4 separate regions of the Homo sapiens genome follow, and all the other regions are linked to region 3. Evidence: promoter capture Hi-C in 16 types of primary human blood cells and fetal thymus (Javierre and others, 2016). All regions are on one chromosome and are shown on one strand. Each heading gives the region's core, a stretch centred on a gene start or on the middle of the fragment in contact. The rest is flanking DNA. Distances are from core to core; before and after follow the strand shown. Region 1 has its middle 30 kb from the start of LINC01144. Region 2 holds the start of LOC105378690 (a long non-coding RNA gene). Region 3 holds the start of EIF2B3 (eukaryotic translation initiation factor 2B subunit gamma). Region 4 overlaps ARMH1 (armadillo like helical domain containing 1).

Region 1 (3,479 bases), core at 44-2,543, 290 kb before region 3:
GGAGAACAGAGCCATCCTGGCTCCCACAAGCTATGTGCAGGTTGCTCCAGGAACACATCATATCATTCTCCTTGTTGGTGGGAGATGGGTAGCTGCTCCTGTGGTAACAGTTGAAATTTACTGAAATTAACTACAATTTATCACCAAGTCTTCCCCTGGAAGTTGCAAGCTTTCAATAGACTCTGGATTTCCAAAACTGTTACATCAGACAGAATCTGACAGTGCAATTGTTGTCTAGGTGGGGAGATATATTCTTGGTTCTTCCTACTCTGCCAACTGCCCAGAATCATCTCCAGATTTTTGTTTAGATAGAAGTGCAGGTTCCACTCTAAGAAAACCTTGGGGATGTAGGTATCTGAGGGAGTTTGTAGGTCTTAGAGTGGAAGTTCAAGAAGATACAGAAGAATGATTGGGGACCAAAACAAAGAAGGAGGCTGGGTCAGTTGAGAGGATGTATAGAACAGGTAGAGAGTTACAAGGAGAGTTAGAAAGGTAAGGTGACACCTTTGGGTGGAATTTATCTTAAGCATTCCTTGGTGAAAGAGGTACACACAGGCCAGGTGTGGCTGAGAGTCTTCCTGTAGTGATTTGGTAACAACAGGGTACTGGACTCCTGCAGCTTCATATGTGGGTGCAATATAAAAAGAGGGGGTTAGGTGGCCCAGAGCATCTGTCCCAGGGTCACATGGTCACTCAGACCCAGGGCCCAGTTTGTGGGGGGTCCCTGCCTCCCTCTCCAGTCTTCATTGCACTCTGCTGCAGACCCAATAGCCTCCTTTTAGACCCTCCATCATGCCACGTTCTTCCCTACCATAGGAGGCACATGCTCTCTGCCTGGGATGCCCTTAGTCTTCCTTCGGATCTTGACTAAAACATCACTTCTTTGGATATACCCTAGATCCCCCACCATTCTCTCTCATCACATTGTGTATCATTCCTTCAAGAACTTATCACAGTTGTAATTTTACATTTATTTGTGTGTTCATTTGATTAAAGCCTCTCTCCTCTTTCTTGTCTGTAAGTTTCAGAGGGACCATGCCTGTTTTATATACCGGGTCTCCCAGCATTTATCCCAGTACTTACACAAAATAGTTGTGGTAGTTAAAAAATGTCCACAGGCCAGGCACAGTGGCCCACGCTTGTAATCCCAGCACTTTGGGAGGCCAAGGCAGGAGGATTGCTTGAGCCCAGGAGTTCAAGACCAGCTTAGGCAACATAGCAAGACCCTCATCTTTACCAAAAATACAAAAATTAGCCAGGTATGGTGGTACATGCTTGTAGTCCCAGCTACCCAAAAGGCTGAGTTAGGAGAATCACTTGAGCCCAGGAAGTTGAGGCAGCAGTGAGCCTCATGACACACGCTACCATGCCTGGCTAATTTTTGTATTGTGCCATACTGCACTCCAGCCCAGGCAACAGACTGAGACCCTGTCTCAAAAAAAAAAAAAAAAAAAAAGTCTACAAATGTTTTAACACTTTTTTTTTTTTTTTGAGACAGAGTCTTACACTGTCTCCCAGGGTTGGAGTGCAATGGTGCCATCTCGGCTCACTGTAGCCTCTGCCTCCTGAGTTCAGGCAATTCTCCTTTTCTCAGCTTCCCAAGTAGCTGGGATTACAGGTGCCTGCCACCATGTCTGGCTAATTGTTTTTTGTTTTTGTTTTTGTTTTTTGTATTTTTAGTAGAGATGAGGTTTCACTATGTTGGCCAGGCTGGTCTTGAACTCCTGACCTCATTATCCATCCGCCTCAGCCTCCTAAAGTGCTAAGATTACAGGCGTGAGCCACCCACCGTGCCTGGCCCAACACTTTTTTTCAAAGGCAGATGTCTATTTTTCCTCCTCGTGAATGTAAGGCCAGACTTAGTGACTTCCTTCTAACAAATAGACTGTGGTGGAAGTGACTGTGTGTGACTTCTGAGGCTGGGTTAAAGAAGATACAGCTTCCTCCCTGCATTTTTCTCACTCTTGGATCACTCATTCAGGGGAAGCCATACCATGCTGTGAGGTCACTGAGGAAAACCAGAACGCCCCTGTGGTATTCTGTCATAGCAACGCAAAATGGATTAAGACAATGACAAACCAAAAGAAAACAAACAAAAAATTGTTCATAAATATGCTAATTCATTCATTCAGCATTCATTGCAAAACTATTTTATTATTAGTCATCTATTGCTACATAACAAATTTCCCCAGAACTTAGAGGCTTAAAACAACAATAATCATTTATTCTTTCTCATAAGATATAACTTGGTATGGTGGCTCTCGCTAAGAATTAGCTAGATTCTGTGGGAGGCCTCAATTCCTCTCTAGTTGATACCTGGAGAGGAATTGAGGCCTCCCACAAACAGCCAGCAACCACTTGCTAGTGATGGGAGAAAGCTACCTTGAAAGTGGATTCTCCAGCCCCAGTCAAGCTTTCAGATAGCTGCAGTTCTGGTTGACATCTGAACTGTAACCTCACAAGGGATTCTCAGCCAGAACCACCACACCAAGTTATATCCTGTGAGAGATAATAAATGATTGTTGTTGTCTTAAGTCTCTAAGTTCTGGGATAATTTGTTATGTAGCAATGGATAACTAACCATAAAATATTTTGCAATTAATACTGAATGAACAAATCAGCATATTCATGAACAATTTTTTGTTTTCTTTTGGTTGGCATTACCTTCATGCATTTTGTGTTGTTATCCCAGAATACCACAGACTGGGTTATTTTATTTTATTTTATTTTATTTTATTTTATTTTATTTTATTTATTTTATTTTATTTTATTTTATTTGAGACAGAGTCTCACTCTGTTGCCCAGGCTGGAATACAGTGGCATGATCACAGCTCACTGCAGCCTCAACCTCCTGGGCTCAAGTGATCCTCCCACCTGAGCCTCCCGAGTAGCTGGATCCACAGGTGCATGCCACCATACCTGGCTGATTTTTGTATTTTTTGTAGAGATGGAATTTTGCCATGTTGCCCAGGCTGGTCTTAAACTCTTGGGTTCAAGCAATCTGCCAGCCTCAGCCTCCCAAAGTGCTGGGATTACAGGTGTGAGATACCATGCCCAGCCCAGACTGGGTAATTTTAAAAGAACAGAAATTTATTTCTTAAAGTTCTGGAGGCTGTGAAGTCCAACATTGAGGGTCTGCCTCTGGTGAGGGCCTTTTTGCTGCATCATCTCATGGTGAAAAGTGGAAAGGCAAGAGAGGGCGTGTGAGAGCAAGAGAACAAGAAGTGGCCAAACTCGCTTTTATAGCAACCCACTATCATGATAACTAACCTACTCCTGTGATAATGACATTAATCCATTGACGACAGCAGAGCTCTCAGAAACTAATCACCTCTTATCAGGCCCCACTTCCCAAGACTGTTGCCTTAAATTTTTTTTTTTGAGACAGAGTTTCACTCTTGTTGCCCAGGCTGGAGTGCAGTGGCACGATCTCAGCTCACTGCAAACTCTGCCTCCTGGGTTCAAGCAATTCTCCTGTC
Region 2 (3,454 bases), core at 731-3,230, 260 kb after region 3:
GTTGGTGGCCCTTCCCTCTGGATCTGCTTTTTTTTTTTTTTTTTTTTTTTGAGAATGAGTCTCACTCTGTCGCCCAGGAGGCTGGAGTGCAGTAGTGTGATCTTGGCTCACTGCAGCCTCTACCTCCCGGGTTGAAGTGATTCTCCTGCCTCAGCCTCCCAAGTAGCTGGGATTACAAGTGTGTGCCACCACACCCGGCTAATTTTTTATTTTTTATTTATTTTTTAGTAGAGACGGAGTTTGACCCTGTTGGCCAGGCTGGTCTCGAACTCCTGACCTCAGGCGATCCGCCCACCTCAGCCTCCCAAACTGCCAGGATTACAGGCGTGAGCCACCGTGCCCGGCCTGTTTTTGTGATGGGGTCTTGCTTTGTTGTCCATGATGGCTTCCAACTCTTGGGCTCAAGAGATCTTCTTCCTTCAGCCTGCAGAGTAGCTAGGATTACAGGTGCAAGCCACCGTCCTAAACTTGGACCTGCTTTTTAACTTGAGGAGCACAGGCACCACAATCTAGCATCATAGCTCTCACTTGACCTCCCTTCCCCCTCCACACACACAAAGAACAGACAGGTATCAAGGCTGTTTATTGACTCTTCGCAGCCAGCGGCTCTTCCTCTGCCCCTCTGGGATGCCTAATCCCCGTCTCCCCCCTGGAGCCAAGTGGAGTGGCTCTGAGCTTGACCCCAGGCGCCTTCCTCTTGCCAGGCTTCCCTGCCCCGCAGCCTTGGCCTTCCTGGTTTGCCACAGGGGCTGTTACTCCTTTGATTCTACATCCTCCTCGAAGTGTGTGAGGTAGGCCATCTGAGCCGAATCGCGCGAGCCATAGAGAGTGTTCATGCTGTAGGAGCTGCCATGGAGGCACAGGGCTGCAGGCAGGAAAGGCGGGCGTGAGGCTGTGCTGGCGGCGCCTGCGCCCGGCTTCCCTCGTCCCACACTCACCTTTGGTAACATTGACTGTGTTGGCCGCCAAGATGTCCGCCTGAATGCTGTCTATTTTCATGTACAAGTCCTCAGCGTTGCTCTGAGGACAGGAGCAAGGGGGACCCGGCTGGGGTGCCAGGGCAGTCTGGACTTGGAGTTGGGCTTGGCAGAGGGATGTTGCAGGTGGGGGGCGGGTCGGCAGCCTGACCGAAAGGGCAGGAAAGGGAACAGGAAGGTGGCGGGTGGAGGAGCCTACGCCAGAGCAGTCCCTCCTGCAGCTGGTGGCCAGGTCCACTCTGCATGTGGCGCGCTCCAGGATGGGGACTGTCTGAAGGGGCATCACACTGTCCGAGCCGCCATCTGCTCATTGCGGCGGGGCAGGAAGGGCGCACTTACCAGGAAGAGCTGGTAGAGTTCCTCCCCCATGCACTTGCGCACGTGCTCCGCCACCAAGGGGAACATCTGCACGAAGCACTGCGCCGCGCGGGCGAGGCGGCGTGACTGCGGGGGCGACGGGGCTGCGGGTGCCGCCGCCCTTCCCGCCCCCTAACCAGCCGCCGCGCGCACCTCCAGCGTGAGGCTGGCCAGCCGCTGGCTGTTGCTGTGGTCCGTGTTGCCCATGGCGGCCATTAGGCCACGCACCACGCGCAGGTACAGCAGCTCCTCGGCGATGCTCATGTCGTTGCGCGCCAGGACCCTGGGCCGGGGGTTCGGGCTGGGGCGACGCCCTGGGGCTCACCCGGCGCACACCCCCGCCCACCCGGCGCACGGAGCGCTCCCGGGGCCCGCCGGCAGCGCCAAGCCAGGCTTGCTGCAGCTACCCACTAACCCCTGCCCGCTTACCCGATGGCCTTGGCGGCCGCGGCCTGCTGCAAAAACATCGGCAGGCTGGGGGTGAGCTGGAGAACCGAGGGGTCTGAGGAGGGGGCAGCCGTGAGGCAAGAGACCGCCCTCCCGTGGCCCAGGCAGCCCCATTTGAGCAGGTCCTTACCACTGAGGATCTTGGCCTGCAGTTTGGAGATCTCCTTGACCGACGGTATCAGCAGCGCCACGAGGCCCTTGAGCAGCGCCTGGCGCACATCGTAACCGACCAGGTCTTTGATCAACTCGATGGCTGCGGAAGGGCAGAGGTGCTGGAGAGAGGCCCCAGGCCCCTCCGCCACCGAGGAAGCAAAGAACCCCGTGAACCAAGTCGCCACTCGTCAGTGTCCTCCTCTTTTACTGATCAGCACTGTGCAGGGCGTGGGGGAGCTGGGAAGGCGAACCTCAGTTGAAGAGCAGGAGGAGGGGGCTGAAGGGGGAGGAGGAAGGGTTGGATGGTGAGCCCACCTGTCGAGGCGGCCTAGGATGTCAGCGCTGGAGGCTGAGACCCCAGAGAGGGGGGCCTTCGCCTTGGAGGAATCCAGGTTTCATGGAGGAGGGAAGGGCTGGGTCTTTACGGGAAGACAAGATGGAGAAAGACAAGGGGTGAGAGGGAGACAGAGAAAGTGGGTGGGAGACTTGTGGCAGGAAATGAGAAAGGGGAAGGAAGGTAGGCGGCAGTTTAGAGAAACTCTCCTTCTAACCATCATCGAGCCCTCTCCACCAGGCAGGGTGCCAGGCTTTCCATACAGCACCCGTGGAAGCTCACCAGAACCAGATGAGGTTCACTTCCCCATTTTACCTTTGCCGAAATTAGACACAGAGAGGTAAACCACTTTGCCTAAGTTACACAGCTAGGAAGTGATGGAAGCAGAAGGAGGGGAGGATTTGGTTAGGAAGGAGAAGGGGACTAGAATTTATGGAGGGCATTTCCTGCAGGGCTTTCCTGTAGATATTTTACAGGCAGTCATTCATTCAGTCCAGCATTCACTCAGTCTTTCGGCACGGCTGCATGTGAACGCCTATGGTGCCAGGCGCGGCATTGGGTGTTGAGGATACAGACTGAATTCATTCATTCGACCAACCCTCCTTAAGCGTGCACAAACAGGCAGCGATGATATGGTGACAGGTGCTGTGGAAGGAGTCAGTGATTGGGCTGTGGGAGCACAAGAGAAAATCGGCAAGGATTGAATGTTTTTGTAAAGAAGAGAAAGGAACCACAGAGCTAGAGGGGGCAGGAGGAGAAGGAGATGCTAAGATGATGGCACACCAGCATAAATGCTACCTTTTTTTTTTTTTTGAGACAGAGCCTCACTCTGTCGCCCAGGCTGGAGTGCAGTGGCGCGATCTCGGCTCACTGCAACCTCCGCCTCCTGGGTTCAAGCAATTCTCCTGCCTCAGCCTCCCGAGTAGGCTGGGATTACAGGCGCCCGCCACCACACCCGGCTAATTTTTTTTTTTTTTTTTTTTTGTATTTTTAGTAGAGATGGGGTTTCACCATCTTGGCCAGGCTGGTCTTGAACTTCTGACCTCGTGATCCACGCGCCTCGGCCTCCCAAAGTGCTGGGATAGCAGGCATGAGCCACTGGGCCCGGTGGGCCCAGCCAGTAAATGCTAGTATTTTTGTTTGTTTGTTTTTTTGAGACGGAGTTTCACTGTCATCACTCAGGCTG
Region 3 (3,413 bases), core at 695-3,194:
GTGGTGACTTCACATGCCATAATGGCACTGGTGGCAAGTACACCTGCGGGGAGAAATTTGATGACGAGAGCTTCGTCCTAAAGCATACACATCCTGGCATCTTGTCCATGGCAAATGCTGGACCCAACACAAATGGTTCCCAGTGTTTCATCTGCACTGCCAAGACTGAGTGGCTGGATGGCAATCCTGTGGTCTTTGGCAAGGTGAAAGAAGGCATGAATATTGTGGAGGCCATGGGGCACTTTGGGTCCGAGAATGGCAAGACCAGCAAGAAGATCACCATTGCTGACTGTGGACAACTCTAACAAGTTTGGCTTTTGTTTTATCTTAACCACCAGACCATTCCTTTTGTAGCTCAGAAGAGCACCCCTTCACCCCATTTGCTTGCAGTATTTTTTTTTTTTTTTTTTTTTGAGACGCTGTCTCACCCTGTCGCCCTCTCCCAGGCTGAAGTGCAGTGGCACGATCTCGGCTCACTGCAACCTCCACTTCCCGGGTTCAAGCAATTCTCTTTCCTCAGCCTCCCGAGTAGCTGGGACTACAGGCGCACGCCGCCATGCCTGGCTAATTTTTTCTTTCTTTCTTTCTTTCTTTTTTTTTTTTTTTTTGTATTTTAGTAGAGACGGGGTTTCACCATGTTGCCCAGGCTGATCTTGAACTCCTGAGCTCAGGCAATCTGCCTGCCTCGGCCTCCCAAAGTGCTAGGATTACAGACGTGAGCCACCACGCCCGGCCTGCTCGCAGTATCTTATCTTTGTGCTCTTGCTGCAGTTCCCTTTGGGTTCCATGTTTTCCTTGTTCCTTTCCATGCCTAACTGGATTGCTGAGTTAAGTTTATGATTATGAAATAAAAACTAAATTAAAAAAAAAAAACAGGGTCTCACTCTGTCGTCTAGGCAGGAGGAGTGCAGTGGCCCGATCATAGCTCACTGCAGCCTCGAACTCCTGGGCTCAAGCGATCCTCCCGTTTCAGCCTCCTGAGCAGCTGGGACTACAGGCACACACTACCATGCCCAGCTAATTTTTACTTTTGTAGAGACTGGAGGCTCTCTCGCACAGGCTGGTCTTGAACGCCCGGTTTCAAGCAATCCTCCCACCTCGGCTTCCCAAATTGCGGAGATTACAGGCATGAGCCACCATGCCCAGCCGCCCCCAGTTTTGATGGCTAAAGTTAACGTGAGTGGCCCTGTTACAAATAGGAAGTCCCGGGCCGGGCGCGGTGGCTCACGCCTGTAATCCCAGCACTTTGGGAGGCCGAGGCGGGCGGATCACGAGGTCAGGAGATCGAGACCATCCTGGCTAACACAGTGAAACCCCCGTCTCTACTAAAAATACAAAAAAATTAGCCGGGCATGGTGGCAGGCGCCTGTAGTCCCAGCTCCTCGGGAGGCTGAGGGAGGAAAATGGCGTGAACCCGGGAGGCCGAGCTTGCAGTGAGCCGAGATCGCGCCACTGCACTCCAGCCTGGGCGACGCAGAGCGAGACTCCGTCTCAAAAAAAACAAAAAACAAACAACAACAACAACAACAACAAAAACAAATAGGAAGTCCTGGCAACCCCTGCAGGGGCATTCGGTGATTTTTTTCACTAGCTAGCCAAAATTGCGGCTCCCAATGAGCTTTCTTTCACCGAATGTACTCGAAGCCAGGTCTTAGACTTACTCCCTGAGGAAAGAGGCTGAGTTGTTCCGTCTGGGTTCCCGGCACCCTGCACTGGGAGGAATACTCAAAAGGCGTTGGTAATGTGTTAATGGACAGAGGGACACACGTGTCGAATGCTCCTCGGTGGCCCCGCCCCCTCCGGCCCGCCTTCCCTCCTCTCCGCTGAGTGTGCTTCCCCTCCGTCATCCATCGCTCGGCGGTCTTCTCTTCTCCATGGGTCTGCTCTGCGCGTTCCATCGAGTTTCTCGGCCATCGCGCGCCTGCGCCATTGGGCTGTCAGTCAGAGGCGGCGTGGAGATCGCTGGGAGCGGTTGCGGCGTGCCGGGAGCTGAGTTATAGCTGTGACTTCTGCCCTGCCAGGCCGCACACAAGCTGGCTGACCCGGGTGAGCAGTGCGGTGGGGCCACTCATCTGAGGGAGGCGGGCATGTCGAACTGGGCCGAGGTGGACCCGAAGGGGTAGGAGAGGGTGCTGAGCCCCGAAGTTGTCAGCTCGACTCCCTGCTCGACCCGGTGTAGCTGTGTCCGAAGTAGAAGGGAGGTTGGGGATGAGAATCCGAGCCAACCACCTTATGCAACAGATGGAGGAACTAAGTTTCTAATCTCAGCTACTCGAGAGTCTGAGGCAGGAGAATCGTTTGAACCCAGGAGGTGGAGGTTGCAGTGAGCCTAATTCGCGCCACTGCACTCCAGCCTGGGCAACATAGTGAGACTCTCCGTTTCAAAAAAAAAAAAAAAAAGAAAAGAAAAGAAAGAAACGAAGTTTCGGGGAGGGTTCTGCTTAAAGTCACAGCGAGTGAGCGAGCACCAGACCGGTACCAGACGCCTTTAGCACTGTGCCTGCACTCTTTCAGCCTCAGCCCTTCATTCATTTGTTCAGCCTGCCTTTAGTTGTTTGGATGCAGGGCAGTGAAATATAGGGAGGAGCAGTGAGGTCTCTGCCTTCAGGCAGCACACGTGGAATGACAGACCAATTCTGATACAGTTTTCTTATCTATTTACAACTGGAAAAGGCATGAGTGCTATGATGCAGGCAAGTCTGAGATGCGGTGAACACCCTCTCCAAAGCTTGGGAGGCAGCGAGACTCGTTGCCATGATTCCCGTCAGCCATAGTCGTGGCAGTGACATGAGCATTTGACAGTCTGCCTGGTAGCATGATTAGTTATGTTCATGATTACTATTCATGCTTCCTAGGTTGCCTTTCTTCACCCAGGGCCTCCTTGAGAGCTGGAACCTCAGTTCCTAGTGACCTGGGTTCTAATGCCCTTATGCACATGTTTGAGTTTGACTCTTATACAGTTGTGAAGTTCACAGGTCCTCATTCCACTTTGATTTCTGGCATCTGACTGGGAATACAGTGATGATGCACACACAGTCCAAGAAAGTCACTCTTACACTCTTATGTAGACATTTAAGAGACATTAATGTTACACTTAAGTAGACATTTAAACACATACGTGCAATGAAACCCGTAAAGGCTAAGAGAATCTGCACATGGCAGAATGGAAGCACTTCGGGAAAAGGAGTCACTTCTGGAGGGGTGGGAACGGTTAGGAATGGCTTTGTAGGCAAGAGGATTCTTGAGCTGTCTTCAAAGTTTAATAGGTGATTACTAGACACAAGAGAAAGGCAGACTAGGAAGCAACAGTAGCAGTGCAGAGACCAGAATTATGAAGCAGCATGGCTCAATTAGTACGAAGGTTTTCCATAATCTAGTCTCTGTCTAGTAAAGCAAATACAAATATAGTGCTT
Region 4 (3,756 bases), core at 295-2,794, 280 kb after region 3:
AGGAGGGGAGGTGGGGGCAGGGGTGGTTCAAAGGAAGAAGGGCTGACATTTGGGCAGGGGTTGAAGGCAGGGTCAGGGAAGGGCTTAGGGAGTCAATGCTTAAGCTGAGAAGTGATGGACGGATGAGGAGGAGTGGGCAAGTTTGCCACACAGAGGTGAGGTGGGGAGAGGAAGGTGTCAGTGCTACCCAATCTAGTCTTTGGGATTGTTTGATTAAGCTTCCTAACATGATTCTACTACCAGGTCATCCCCTTGCTCCAATGCCAGTGACAACCCTCTGGTGCAGGGTCTGACTATTACTTAGGTCCCTGTACCACTCTACCCCTTCACTGGCAACTCCTCTCCAGCCAGGACACTCTGCTCCAGCTGCTAACAGATTTTAGCATAGCATTATTTCTCAACATACAAGGCCCACATATGCACACAGACCTTGCAGGGGTCAAAAAATACAAAACCGACAATGTTGCTGAAGGAATAACATGCCTGACATTCAGTTTAAGCACTGCTGCTCAAAAATAACCTAGGTTGGAAGTGGCCTCCAGAGCTTTGTTGATCTTCCCCAGGATCTCACTTGCGTACGTGAACCTCAGTGCCTGGCTGCTCCTTATGCTCTCCTCCCCGGGCTTCCTGAACCTGGGGCTCAGCCTGTCATCCTGGACACAGGAGTCCCTATCCCTATACTGATGCCCAGACCATTCCTGCTTACTGGGGCTGTCTGTCCTGGTCTCCTGGGCCCTGCCTACTCTGACATCCATAAGCTGCTTCATTCTCCTCACCAGGCAGTCCCCTGTGCTGTCCATGCTCTCTTCCTGGGGCTATGTACCCAGCTGGGCCAGCACATTCTTATTTTGTCATTTGAACCACCCCAAATTCCTCCTAATTGGCCTCCAGCCTCAAGTGGTTCCCTGTGGCTCTGGCCCACCTGGCATAGCACCACCCAGGCCATCTTCGGAGGCACTGCACTTGCTCAGCCCTCACCTGTGCACAGCTCACTTTTCAGCGGCTCCATGCTGCATACTGGAGAGACTGCCACCTACCTACATGGCATTCAAGGTGCCCCTCCATTGCTCCTAGCCTACCTTTCCTAGACATAGACCTTTACCATCCCTTCTCTAAATGACCTACCCATTATTCCCAGGACACACCTTGTACTTCCCTGTCTGCCTTCCTTTCTACCATTCCCCTTTCCAGAACGAACTCCTCTCCTCCTTTCGACCTTCCCAAATCCTCCCTATTCTCCACGGCTCAGTTCAAACACCACCGTCTCGGTGAACCCTTCCTTAATCTCCTCCTGTTGAAAATAGAATCTCCTTCCTCTGAACCACTATAGGGAAAGGGAAGGAAATTATATCGTTTAAATATCTGCCATGCGCTATATGTTAAAAGCATAAACTTTAGAGTCAGGCAGATCTGGCTAGAATCCAATAGCTGTGTAACCTTGGGAAGCATACTTAATCTCTCTGTGCTTTATTGTTGTATCTTGAAAAACATAAAAATACGTATCTTTACCATTCATTCATGGAAACATTTGAATACCTAATATGTACCAGGGTTTGTACTCTTATGGTTATTTTGTTGTTATTGCTGTTGTTTTGTTGTTTTTTTTTTGAGACAGAATCTTGCTCTGTCACCCAGGCTGGAGTGCAGTGGCGAGATCTCGGCTCAATGCAACCTCCGCCTCCTAGGTTCAAGTGATTTTCATGCCTCAGCCACTCAAGTAGCTGGGATTATGGGCACATGCCACTACCCCTGGCTAATTTTTTTGTATTCTTAGTAGAGACGGGGTTTTGCTGTGTTGGCCGGGCTGGTCTCAAACTCCTGGCCTCAGGTGATCCGCCTGCCTCGGCCTCCCAAAATGGTGGAATTACAGGCGTGAGCCACCATGCCTGGCCTCTTATGGTTATTTTGAGAAGTAAATGAGGTGATGTATGGAAAGTGGCTGGCACATAGAAGTTCTCAATAAATAGGCCGGGTGCGGTGGCTCATGCCTGTAATCCCAGCACTTTGGGAGGCCGAGGCGGGTGGATCACGAGGTCAGGAGATCGAGACCATCCTGGCTAACGCAGCGAAACCTCGTCTCCACTAAAAAATATAAAAAATTAGCCGGGCATGGTGACAGGCGCCTGTAGTCCCAGCTACTTGGGAGGCTGAGGCAGGAGAATGGTGTGAACCCGGGAGGCAGAGCTTGCAGTGAGCTGAGATTGCGCCACTGCACTCCAGCCTGGATGACAGAGCGAGATTCCGTCTCAAAAAAAAAAAAAAAAAAGTTCTCAATAAATAAAAGCTCCTGGCCGGGTGCAGTGGCTCATGCCTGTAATCCCAGCACTTTGGGTGGCTGAGGTGAGAGGATCGCTTGAGGCCTGGAGTTCAAGACCAGCCTGGGCAACATAGTGAGACCTCGTTTCTGCAAAAAATTAAAAAGTTAGATGGATGTAGTAGTGCACACTTGTGGTCCTAGCTACTTGGGAGGTTGAGGAGGGAGAATATCTTGAGCCCAGGAGTTTGAGGCCACAGTGAGCTATGATGGTACCACTGCACTCCAGCCTGAGCAGCAAAGCAAGACCCTGCCTCAAAAAAAAAAAACCCAGCAAAAACAACCAACCAAATACTACGACTATTCAGTTTAGTTTCTTAGAAGAAGGACATTCCTCAGGGTGATTTCTGTTTAGCCAGGAAGCATCACATAAGACTGGGAGCCAGAGCCAGCTCTGGACCCAGGCAGATTCTCGTAACCGTTCAGGCACCCTAGGCACCCTGTGGTTGACGCAAGGCATAGGTGTGACTGACATTTTCTGAACCAGCATCTTCCATCTGCCAAGGCTGTCTCAGACACTCAACATCAAGGCTCTTTGTGACTAAGAGAAAGCTTTTGAGAGCTGATATGTCTGGCTCTCGGTGCCCCCTTCTGCAATCTGGAGGCTCCCTACCTTCATACTGGACTTCCAGGTGCATCGTGCCCAGCACCTTCAGCACGCAGTCCACGATGCTGGGGTGTGTGGTCCCAATGATTGGCTGACCAGACAGACAACAGGACAAGGTGGTTAGTCTTTTTTTTTTTTTTAAAGATGGATTCCCGGCCGGGTGCGGTGGCTCACGCCTGTAATCCCAGCACTTTAGGAGGCCGAGGTGGGCAGATCACGAGGTCAGGAGATCCAGACCATCCTGGCTAACAAAGTGAAACACTGTCTCTACTAAAAATGCAAAAAATTAGCTGGGCGTGGTGCCAGGCGCCTGTAGTCCCAGCTACTCCTGAGGCTGAGGCAGGAGAATGGCGTGAACCCGGGAGGCAGAGCTTGCAGTGAGCCGAGATCGCGCCACTGCACTCCAGCCTGGGAAACAGAGCCGTCTCAAAAAAAAGAAAAGAAAAAAGAAAAAGATGTATTCCCACTCTGTCACCCAGGCTGGAGTGCAGTGGCGCGATCTCGGCTCACTGCAACCTCCGCCTCCTGGGCTCAAACGATTCTTCTGCTTCAGCCTCTGAGTAGCTGGGATTACAGGTGCCCGCCACCATGCCCAGCTAATTTTTTTTTTTTTTTTTTTAGTAGAGACGGAGTTTCCCCATGTTGACCAGGCTGGTCTCGAGTTCTTGACCTCAAGTGATCCACCCGTTTCAGCCTCCCAAAGTGCTGGGATTACAGGCATGAGCCACTGTGCCCGCCCAAGGTGGTTAGTCTTTAGATCTTGTCTACCTGTTAGAAAGGAAACGCAGACTTCCAAACAGCCAGGTGCCTGGGTGAATGGGGAGAGGGAGGGAGG

Evidence for each region. The method cuts DNA at HindIII sites, captures the fragments that hold promoters and counts their contacts. A CHiCAGO score of 5 or more calls a contact.
Region 1: a contact is called between a fragment that was not itself captured here and the fragment with the promoter of EIF2B3 in region 3, in 1 of 17 cell types (M1 macrophages). The highest score is 6.1, in M1 macrophages.
Region 2: a contact is called between a fragment that was not itself captured here and the fragment with the promoter of EIF2B3 in region 3, in 7 of 17 cell types (naive CD4 T cells, total B cells, naive CD8 T cells and 4 more). The highest score is 7.4, in naive CD4 T cells.
Region 4: a fragment that was not itself captured here is called in contact with the fragment with the promoter of EIF2B3 in region 3 in 2 of 17 cell types (activated CD4 T cells and non-activated CD4 T cells); the score reaches 6.6 in activated CD4 T cells.

What each region holds. Positions count from the first base shown.
Region 1 is chr1:45,271,721-45,275,199 of GRCh38, reverse strand. No RefSeq gene overlaps it. Among named protein-coding and RNA genes, the nearest start is that of LINC01144, 30 kb to the left of the region's middle. The HindIII fragment of the contact is 2,244 bases long and covers 172-2,415 here.
Region 2 is chr1:44,722,702-44,726,155 of GRCh38, reverse strand. It overlaps ARMH1 (armadillo like helical domain containing 1), which reads right to left. Exons shown (of 12, transcript NM_001145636.2): 7 at 1,912-2,034; 8 at 1,764-1,836; 9 at 1,488-1,617; 10 at 1,317-1,394; 11 at 939-1,020; 12 at 565-865. The coding sequence ends at 753. It overlaps LOC105378690 (a long non-coding RNA gene), which reads left to right and starts at 2,037. Exons shown (of 5, transcript XR_007066059.1): 1 at 2,037-2,121. RefSeq lists a silencer at 2,425-2,719. The HindIII fragment of the contact is 4,387 bases long and covers 1-3,454 here.
Region 3 is chr1:44,985,126-44,988,538 of GRCh38, reverse strand. It overlaps EIF2B3 (eukaryotic translation initiation factor 2B subunit gamma), which reads left to right and starts at 1,944. Exons shown (of 12, transcript NM_020365.5): 1 at 1,944-2,046. It also overlaps the pseudogene PPIAP35. RefSeq lists enhancers at 1,601-1,650, 1,361-1,942, 1,901-2,170 and a silencer at 1,721-1,810. The HindIII fragment of the contact is 3,433 bases long and covers 1-2,730 here.
Region 4 is chr1:44,703,345-44,707,100 of GRCh38, reverse strand. ARMH1 (armadillo like helical domain containing 1) reads right to left here. Exons shown (of 12, transcript NM_001145636.2): 6 at 2,928-3,012. The region is part of intron 3 of LOC105378690 (a long non-coding RNA gene); the gene reads left to right. Among named protein-coding and RNA genes, the nearest start is that of RNU5F-1, 17 kb to the left of the region's middle. The HindIII fragment of the contact is 2,648 bases long and covers 221-2,868 here.